2 separate regions of the Homo sapiens genome follow, and region 2 is linked to region 1. Evidence: promoter capture Hi-C in 16 types of primary human blood cells and fetal thymus (Javierre and others, 2016). All regions are on one chromosome and are shown on one strand. Each heading gives the region's core, a stretch centred on a gene start or on the middle of the fragment in contact. The rest is flanking DNA. Distances are from core to core; before and after follow the strand shown. Region 1 holds the start of GALNT18 (polypeptide N-acetylgalactosaminyltransferase 18). Region 2 has its middle 91 kb from the start of LINC02752.

The links. Contacts are between HindIII fragments. The CHiCAGO score rates a contact against its expected background, and 5 or more counts as called.
Region 2: a contact is called between a fragment that was not itself captured here and the fragment with the promoter of GALNT18 in region 1, in 1 of 17 cell types (M2 macrophages). The highest score is 7.0, in M2 macrophages.

What each region holds. Positions count from the first base shown.
Region 1 is chr11:11,619,499-11,623,263 of GRCh38, forward strand. It overlaps GALNT18 (polypeptide N-acetylgalactosaminyltransferase 18), which reads right to left and starts at 2,507. Exons shown (of 11, transcript NM_198516.3): 1 at 1,861-2,507. The coding sequence starts at 2,095. RefSeq lists enhancers at 388-1,357, 810-949, 1,990-2,039, 2,250-2,329, 2,447-2,947 and 1 more and silencers at 1,530-1,599, 1,620-1,699, 2,450-2,809. The HindIII fragment of the contact is 10,916 bases long and covers 1-3,765 here.
Region 2 is chr11:11,022,729-11,026,893 of GRCh38, forward strand. No RefSeq gene overlaps it. Among named protein-coding and RNA genes, the nearest start is that of LINC02752, 91 kb to the right of the region's middle. The HindIII fragment of the contact is 1,024 bases long and covers 1,313-2,336 here.

The DNA of each region.
Region 1 (3,765 bases), core at 1,257-3,756:
TCAGGGGTTAATGGCATCCCCTGAAAGCATCCCCAAAGCAGTACCTTGCTCACCTCCTGCCTGACCAGAAAGAAAAGCACAAGAGAATCATTTTCCAGGAACACACACACACACAGAATCTGTGAATGAAAATCTCAAAATCTGTCGGCAAACTAGAAATGTCAAAGTAAGGCATGGCTTTGTGTCTCCTGGGGAACATTCTGAATCACCCTGGGGGAAACACTGTACTTCTATTGCTGATTAATAGTCAATCAAGACCTATGGGATGGAAAAGGACACGTAAGAAATAACAGCAACTGGCACCCACAGATAGGTAAATTGGTTTTCAAGCCCAGTGCCAGGTTGAGAGGCAGAGGCAGGTCTGAAGAAGAAGCTGTCAATGTCCCTCTTTTCTGGGAAGGTGCCGAAGCCATGGGCTTGTTTTGAAGTCATTAGTCAGGAAGCACTATGGATGTGGATGCCTCTCCTGCACTCACCTGAACCTCCCTGAACCTTCCCCTCCTGGAAAGGAACTATTCTGGACACCTGGGGAAACACCAAATTCAGACGGAGGAGCCATCTCTACTCTGGCAAGAGCAGCAGGTGCAAGGATTGGAATTCAGACATCCACGTGTAAACAAAAGGGAGTGCTCCTGGCGGGGGGGTGGGGGGTAAGCCTTCAGTTCAATTCGATTTTGCCAAGGTCTGCCATGCACTGGCCCCTGAGCCTGGTGGGCCTGCTAGGTTTACAGGGGAACCAAGCTCGGCCCTGCCCTTAAGAAGCTCACACACCTGGAAGAAAGCAGGGGGCGCGGGGAGGGGAGGAAGTGTGGACGTGAGCGCGCGCGCGCGCGCGTGTGTGTGTGTGTGTGCACACCCGGCACCAGTGCTCCTGGCGCCCGGAACTCCATTCCCTCCCATGACAGCTCATTGACCAGGTCGCCTCGGGAGAGCGCCCTGCAACCCCCACCCTCCCTTTGGACCCCCGCGCTGGTCTGGAGCGCACCCAACCAGCGTAACCTTACACTTCAGACCCAACCCAGGTCTGCTCAGCCCCGGCTGCTCCCAGGGCCTGAGAGTGGAGCTACAGTAGGGATCGGCCTTCACCCGGTCCCGGGCGGCTCCGCGGGGAAGGCGCAGCCCAGGGCGTGTTCTTCCAGTCTTGGGCGGAGTCATCACCACAGTGGACAGAGACTCCAGCGCTACTTCCCGGCGTTGACACCTGCTCCTGGAGAGGGTCCTGGACCCGCGGGCTGTGGTGGGGGTAGGGACTGCTATAGGTTCAAGCGGCTTTTCAACCACAGAGGGCTCCTTGCATTCCCTATCGCCTACCAACGGGATCACAGCAAGACTGGGGCTGGGGCTGATACAACGCAATTTTCCTAGCCTCGCTTGTCCGGCAGCCTGCGGGTCTTAACTGCCAATAGTCAGGGCCGCCGCGCGGGCATCTCGCCTGACGCCTACAGTGGCCAAAAAAGCTCGTTTGCCCGCGCGTTCCCTCTTGTACACACACAGACATTCACATGCACACACACTCTGAGCCGGACTTGTGTGCGATCCCGAGAGCCCGCGAGCAACCAGCCCAGAGTCACACGCACATTTGGACACGTGCGCAGCGCGCCCCCATACCGCCAGCTAGCTGCACACATCCGCTCGTGCAGCCCTGCGCACACACGTGTGCCCCGGGGAAGAGCGCACGGCCGCAGACAGAAGGTCCCGAACGCAGGCAGGAGCTCACACGCAGGCCCCACGACTACCACGCATCTGCGGCCCCAGAGCCCCGCCGTGGCTGAGTTGATGCGCACCAGCCCCAGCGCACCCCGCGCCGCGCGGGGCACTCCCGGGCCTCATGGGCGACCCAAGTTTCCGGGGCGCCCGTACCTTGAATGTGCTGCTTGATGACATTCTCCAGGTGGTCCAGCCGCTCAATAATCTTCAGAGTGTCCCCTTTGTCTTCCTCCAGCTTCTTGTCGGGCGCCGGCTCCTGCCCCCGCACATACACGCTGGCGATGTAGTTGGTGACCCAGCCCACGTAGAGCAGGCAGATGATGTTAGTCATGCCGCTCAGGATCACGCAAGTGGACACCAAAGTTTTGGTCTTCCTGGTGCACACCATTCTGGGCTCCTTCCTCCATATAGAGCTCCCGGGGGCCCTTCCTTGTCGTGCGCCCCGAACTCCCCCGCGCTCGCACCCCGTAGCACGTCCGGAGCCGCTGGGCACCTCAGCACCTGAGTCCCGAGGTTCTCCAAAGCCCGGTCCGCTGCCGGTGTAGCCGCCGTGCCCAAGTTTGCAGCTCCTGCCGCTGGCCACCCGGAGAGACCTTGACAAAGGAAACCAGGTGGATTTTTTTCCAAATTAAAAATCCCTGAACCCTTCCTAGAGGGGTCACGGGTAGCCGGCAGCCGCGCGTCCAGATGTGTACGTCTGGGAAACTTTGCCACTGCCTGTGTCGGCGGCCACGCCGCTTCCCATCGCCAGCGCCGGCTGCCTTGGCGGTCCGACCGGCCCGCGCTGCTAGGAGAACAGCGGCAGCGGCAGCGGCGGCGGGGAGAGCCGCGAAGCAGAGCGGCCCGGCCCCCTCCGAGCGACAAGCGCTGCCACCAATCGCGCTCCGGCTCGGGAGAGGGGCCGGTGCTGAGCGGCAGCGGACCAACGGGGAGGGAGCGGGGGGCGGAGTCCAGCTCCCAGGCCCCACCTGCTGGCCGCCCCTGGCTCCCGCCCCCAGGGACGCGCCCGGGCCTCCACCCGCGCCTGCACAGGCTGCCCCAGACCTGAAGCTCCCGGAGAGGGCGCGCTGCCAGTCCCAGCCCTTAGGTCGGCAGCTTCCTCCGTTAGGGGAATTCCATCTCTTGCTCTTGGGCAGGAATCTCCTGGTTTTGTGGAGGGGGTGGGGGGTTCGCACGGGTCAGCTTCTTTCATCCGCCCGGGGCTTCTCGCATTGGTGCCACCAGTCGACTCCTGGAATCTTTTCTTGGTTGCCAGGACGCTGAGAAGCCAAGGAAGTGCCAGCCCCAGCGGCATCCACTCCTTCCTTGGCCTCACTTGGGCCTCCACCCTGCCCTCTGCCCTTCAGCCACCGGCCTCCTGAGTGTGTCCAGACCTGGCCCTAAACCTGGCTGAAAGGAGCCAACCCTCCGGCAACCTCCCAGAAGCAACATTGGTGACCTATTAGATGACTCTCTCGACCACTTCTTCCCCCCCCCCACCCCCCACCCCCCACCCCCACCGCCTGCCCCAATTTTTGCCCCTATCTAGGTTTTTCTTTAAGTCTGTACAGCTCCCAGGACATGGATGTGTCCTTTAAGCCCAGTTTTCATTTATGTGGAACCAGGGTCATCCAGTGCATAAAGAAACCCTGCAAGGAAGTGCCGCTGAGGGGAACTGAGGTCTGTGAACTGTAAAGCCCTTCTACATGTTGTTTATGATTGCTATCATAGAGGGCGGTGGGAGAGACCTGTGACTGAGCACAGGAGGAGGCCAGACGCAGACAGTGATACTGCTGTGTTTGTTCTTACTGCCAATGTTTACTCATATTATCCTCTTCTGCTGAACACCCCGTTCTCAGCACCTGAACGGAATTCCTTTAAACAAAGACTTTTTACAACATAGATTTCCTGCCTCTTCTCCATCTCTGAGTTGCTTTATTTTTTTGGCCTAAGCCAGGGAGGCAGCCTGCTGCATGCCCACTTTGTTGTGTGCCAGCCTTCCAACCAGCCACAGAAATACTCAGGGCAGCTCCATCCTGGGATATCTTCTGGATTCAAATGACTGGCCCCACAAGAGAG
Region 2 (4,165 bases), core at 575-3,074, 600 kb before region 1:
CATCCACCCACCCACCCATCTATCCATCCATCCATCCATCCACCCAGCCACCCACCCATCCACCCATGCTGCCATCTACCTATGCATTAATCCATCTAAAAATCTGTTCAGTCATTTGTCCACTTACTCAATATTTATTGAATGCTTTCTATGCTTTGGTTGGAGATATGCCCCCTGCTAACAAGAAGACCACAGGAGGTGATGGCAAATACGGAAAAACCAACAGTCCTGGGGAACCTTGTTGGAGCACATTTAATCCAGTTGTTGTTGTTGTTACTGAAGTAGAGGAGACAGGCAGATAAGTCTTCCCGATGGAAGTGACACCAAAGCTGAGATCTGAAGGATAGTAAGAGTGTGTTATACTAAAGAGGATGTCTCCTGTGTTCATTCTCCTCTTGGGGTGGATGTAGCTGAGAGAATAAGAGAGCTTTAGAGTCCCAATTGAGGTTACTTTTTATGTGCTGTTAGTGCATTGGTGGCCCCTCCAGCCCTCACCTTGGTAGTTATGACAAATCAGAGAGTGTCCAGCAGATAGTGATCAGGGTGGTGGGAGGACACTTAAAGAAATTGGGAAAAGCTGTGAAACGAAGTGCTTGGTAAGTGGACAGATTCTATTGCATAAGATTAATGCTGCCTATTAATATTAGAAGGTATTAATAGCTGCCATTATGTTAGGTTTTTCATTTAATAGAATGTGTTATACCCACATCAGCAGGGCCGTGTCAGTGTGGGCTGTTGGCCAAGATGTGGGAATGGCATCATTATGTGTACCCAGACACGTAATGGTATTCTGCGTTGGGAATCTACTTCTATGATCTGATATAGGTTGTTAATTAATAAATGTATTACAGAAAAAGATGCCCAGCAGCAAACTGGTTACACTGGAGAATGGTTGGCCCAAATCCAAAGGATGAATGTCCTTTGAACATCATTTCATCCTCTGCTCCCTTTGTAGGCACCTGGAATTAATGCTGAGAAGAACTGATGTTTGCCTTAGCAAGGCATATACAGTGGCTTCAGCAGGCCTGGGCAGGGCCTGCAATTTTCAGACCGAGTGCTGCTGAGTTCAGCACACCATCTCTTAACTTTAAACTGTGTGTCCCTTATCCTTTGCAGCACCCTTGCACTATTGTTTCCCTTATGATATAAAAGTATTTGTGTGTATCCATGTCTTTAGTAACAATGAAAACCCATGAAAGGTAGCCCAAAAGGGGTTGTATGTTTCAAGAAAAATGGCAGAAAGCACAGTTCTTTGTGGGATTAAAAAGTATGTGTATGTATTTAATATAAACCAAGTGTGTCTGCATATAAAAGCTTGTCTACCTCCTTCGTTCATATAGCTCTCTTGGATTTTGTGGGTATTTGCTTCAGGACAGGCAGGAACTGTTCTAGGCAGTGGCCCAGAGCGAGCATTACTAACCTTGACTGTCATTCTGTCCCAGGTGGCATCCCCTCCTCAGATCCCAGCGCTGTCCATATACATGCTGGTCACATTTAAAGGGCCATGGATGGGGCTTAAGGGCAAAGCTCTAATATGTCAACAATTTCTTCTAACGGGATCTTGCTTCTCTTCTTTTGTATAGCTCAAGTCAGAAGTAATGTGATGTTTTATTGGGATGGCCTTGGTGTTTTGTTGTCTACACTTAATTATATCTAAAATAATTTGTTTTCTCTGTGGCCAGCAATGGATCTGTGAATTCACCAGTCTGGGTCCTGCCTCTCAGCCTTTGCCACTTCACAACTGGGGCCGGTGGATTTTCAGCTGCAGGCTTGGTCCTCCAGGCCTGTTTTTAATGGTTATGGTGGGAGGAGATCAAGATAACCCAGGGTTGAGCATTGGACTGTCCTGCTGCCTGGGTACAACTAAGTCTTACCTAGATCTGATGCTGGGTTTCTGCTTTTCCCTTCTGACAAAATGCTAGCCCTTGAGGACTTGCCTTGAGAACCTTCTAGGACTTTATGTTCTACTCCTGTTTAACACTACTGATCATTTCAGCATTCTTCAGGAGCATGGATTTTGAACAAGGAGGCCAGAACAAAGTAAAGAAGTTAGTCTAACCATTAGAATACATTAGACACACCCATTGACCAATGGGGGGCAAGTGCCACTGTATTAGAGAAATTGATGATGTAATATTCAGAGAATAATAAATAGTGCTTCCAGCTTGAATGATGCATAGTCTCTTTTTAGAAGAAAACAATGCTGACAAATAATTTTATTATCATAATTAATTTAAATATACACAGATGCTAAACTAAGTATAATCTTAAAAACATAACCCATGTATAAATTTAAGTATAAGCAATACTGTGTAAACATTAACATTTAACATAAAAGCTTAGACAAGCTTTTATGAATTTATAAAATACAAACAAATCCACAAAATCAATAGAATTAAGATTAATCTTTAATAGGATCAATGATGTTGGTTTGCTAAAACAAAATCATTTCTTGCCATGTGGATATGGTCCTGGGGCTATGGCACAGGTTTGTGTGAGTTGGCCACGACTCTGCTGAATGTGCTGCATGCCGCATGATGACTCAGTGTGTCTTCCATCTTCCTCTATCCTAAATATCATGACACTTTTGTTTCTACAGGATGCTGTGAGGTCATTTGTTCCTCACTTGTCAATGATCACATTGTTTGTGTTGAAGTCCATCACACTCATTTTTCACTAGTCTGAGAGAATTAAAGCAGTTCTATTTGACCCTTATGCTGTCATAAACACAAATCTACATGTGGACATAGAAATTCTGTGGTTTGAGTTGGTCATTCAGTTGACCCACAAGATATGAATATTGATTATTTTTATATTTTCATCAATATGAAAACAAATTAAAAAAACAATATCAGAATCTCATGAACTCAGAGAAAATGTCCAGTGGGCTTAGTTTGAGAAATACTGGCATGAAAAGCCCAATGGCATGACTAGCTCCCTGATATGGGGCAGGAATTGAGGGAAAGATCAGGGGCTTAAATTGCCAGAGGGTGACAAAATCAGTTTCTACCTGCTGTAATCTATATCCCAGCAAAGTTGGTCTGTTCTCAGATTTACTGGCAAACTGAGGCAACTTAATTGCTCATTCGCGTTCTGCTCTTCAACTATTATTCTGTATCTGGTATGGTGCTGCCATGCCTCTCTGATAGTGACCACTTGCCGTCCTGCCCAGTGGTAGGCTTAGGAATTAGGGGTCTAATCTGGCTGCTCATTGTCCAGAAGCACAGACTGGAAACTCTAGTCTGAAAAATGTTTATGCTATTCTAATATTTGAGTGTGTATCTGTATCATCAGGAGAATTTTAGATAATAGCCATTAGGAGGTCCCAAGAGAATGGCCTATATTTCTAGTTGTAAAGGGTCTTTTGGAGTAAAGAAGGAACACTGACCAAGGAAACGTTCAGACAACTACAAGGAATCCATGAGCTTGGTTGCCTTTTACAGGAGGGGCAGATAAAAAGGATATGGGCTGTAACTGGCTTTGATAACGCCCCAACCCAATGAAGAATTTTGAGTTGTTAAAACATGTTGTTTCTAGACTCCAAACACTGACCCACTTGGGAGAAAATGAGGCAGCATGGTACCAGATCTGTGGGATCTGTTCCCAAAATCCTATTGACAGGCTTGGTCCACTTGCAGGTCACCCTCCATGGTCTTTGGTCAACTTTTCTGTGGTCATCATAGCTTGATGGGACTTTCTCTGGCAGTTGTCCCATTCAAACCAGTTGTCCACAGCCTTGCCTGCTTCAAGAGTCCAAGGACCAAACCTCAAGGAGTACCTCAGATTGTTCCCCAAGTGCTGCCACTGACCTCATTTGGACTGACGATGCACTTAACAATTTGACTTTCCACTCTTATTTTTCCTGAAACTCAATACTCCCAATTGAGTTCTACTAGCTGTATTTGTGAAAAGTAATCACAAACATTTTTTTAGAATACAGTGAAATGTGAAGGAATGATTTATTGTGTACATGCATATGGCAGAATATGTGTAAGTGGTTATAGATCAGTTCTGGAATTAGACAGGCCTGAGTTTTAACTTAATCTTGCCACATAGGAGCTGTATGAACTTAGACAAATTACTTAATCTAAGATGTAGTTTTCTTATTCATAAACATGGATCATAATAACACCTATTTCATAGCGTTATTGAGAGGACTAAACGG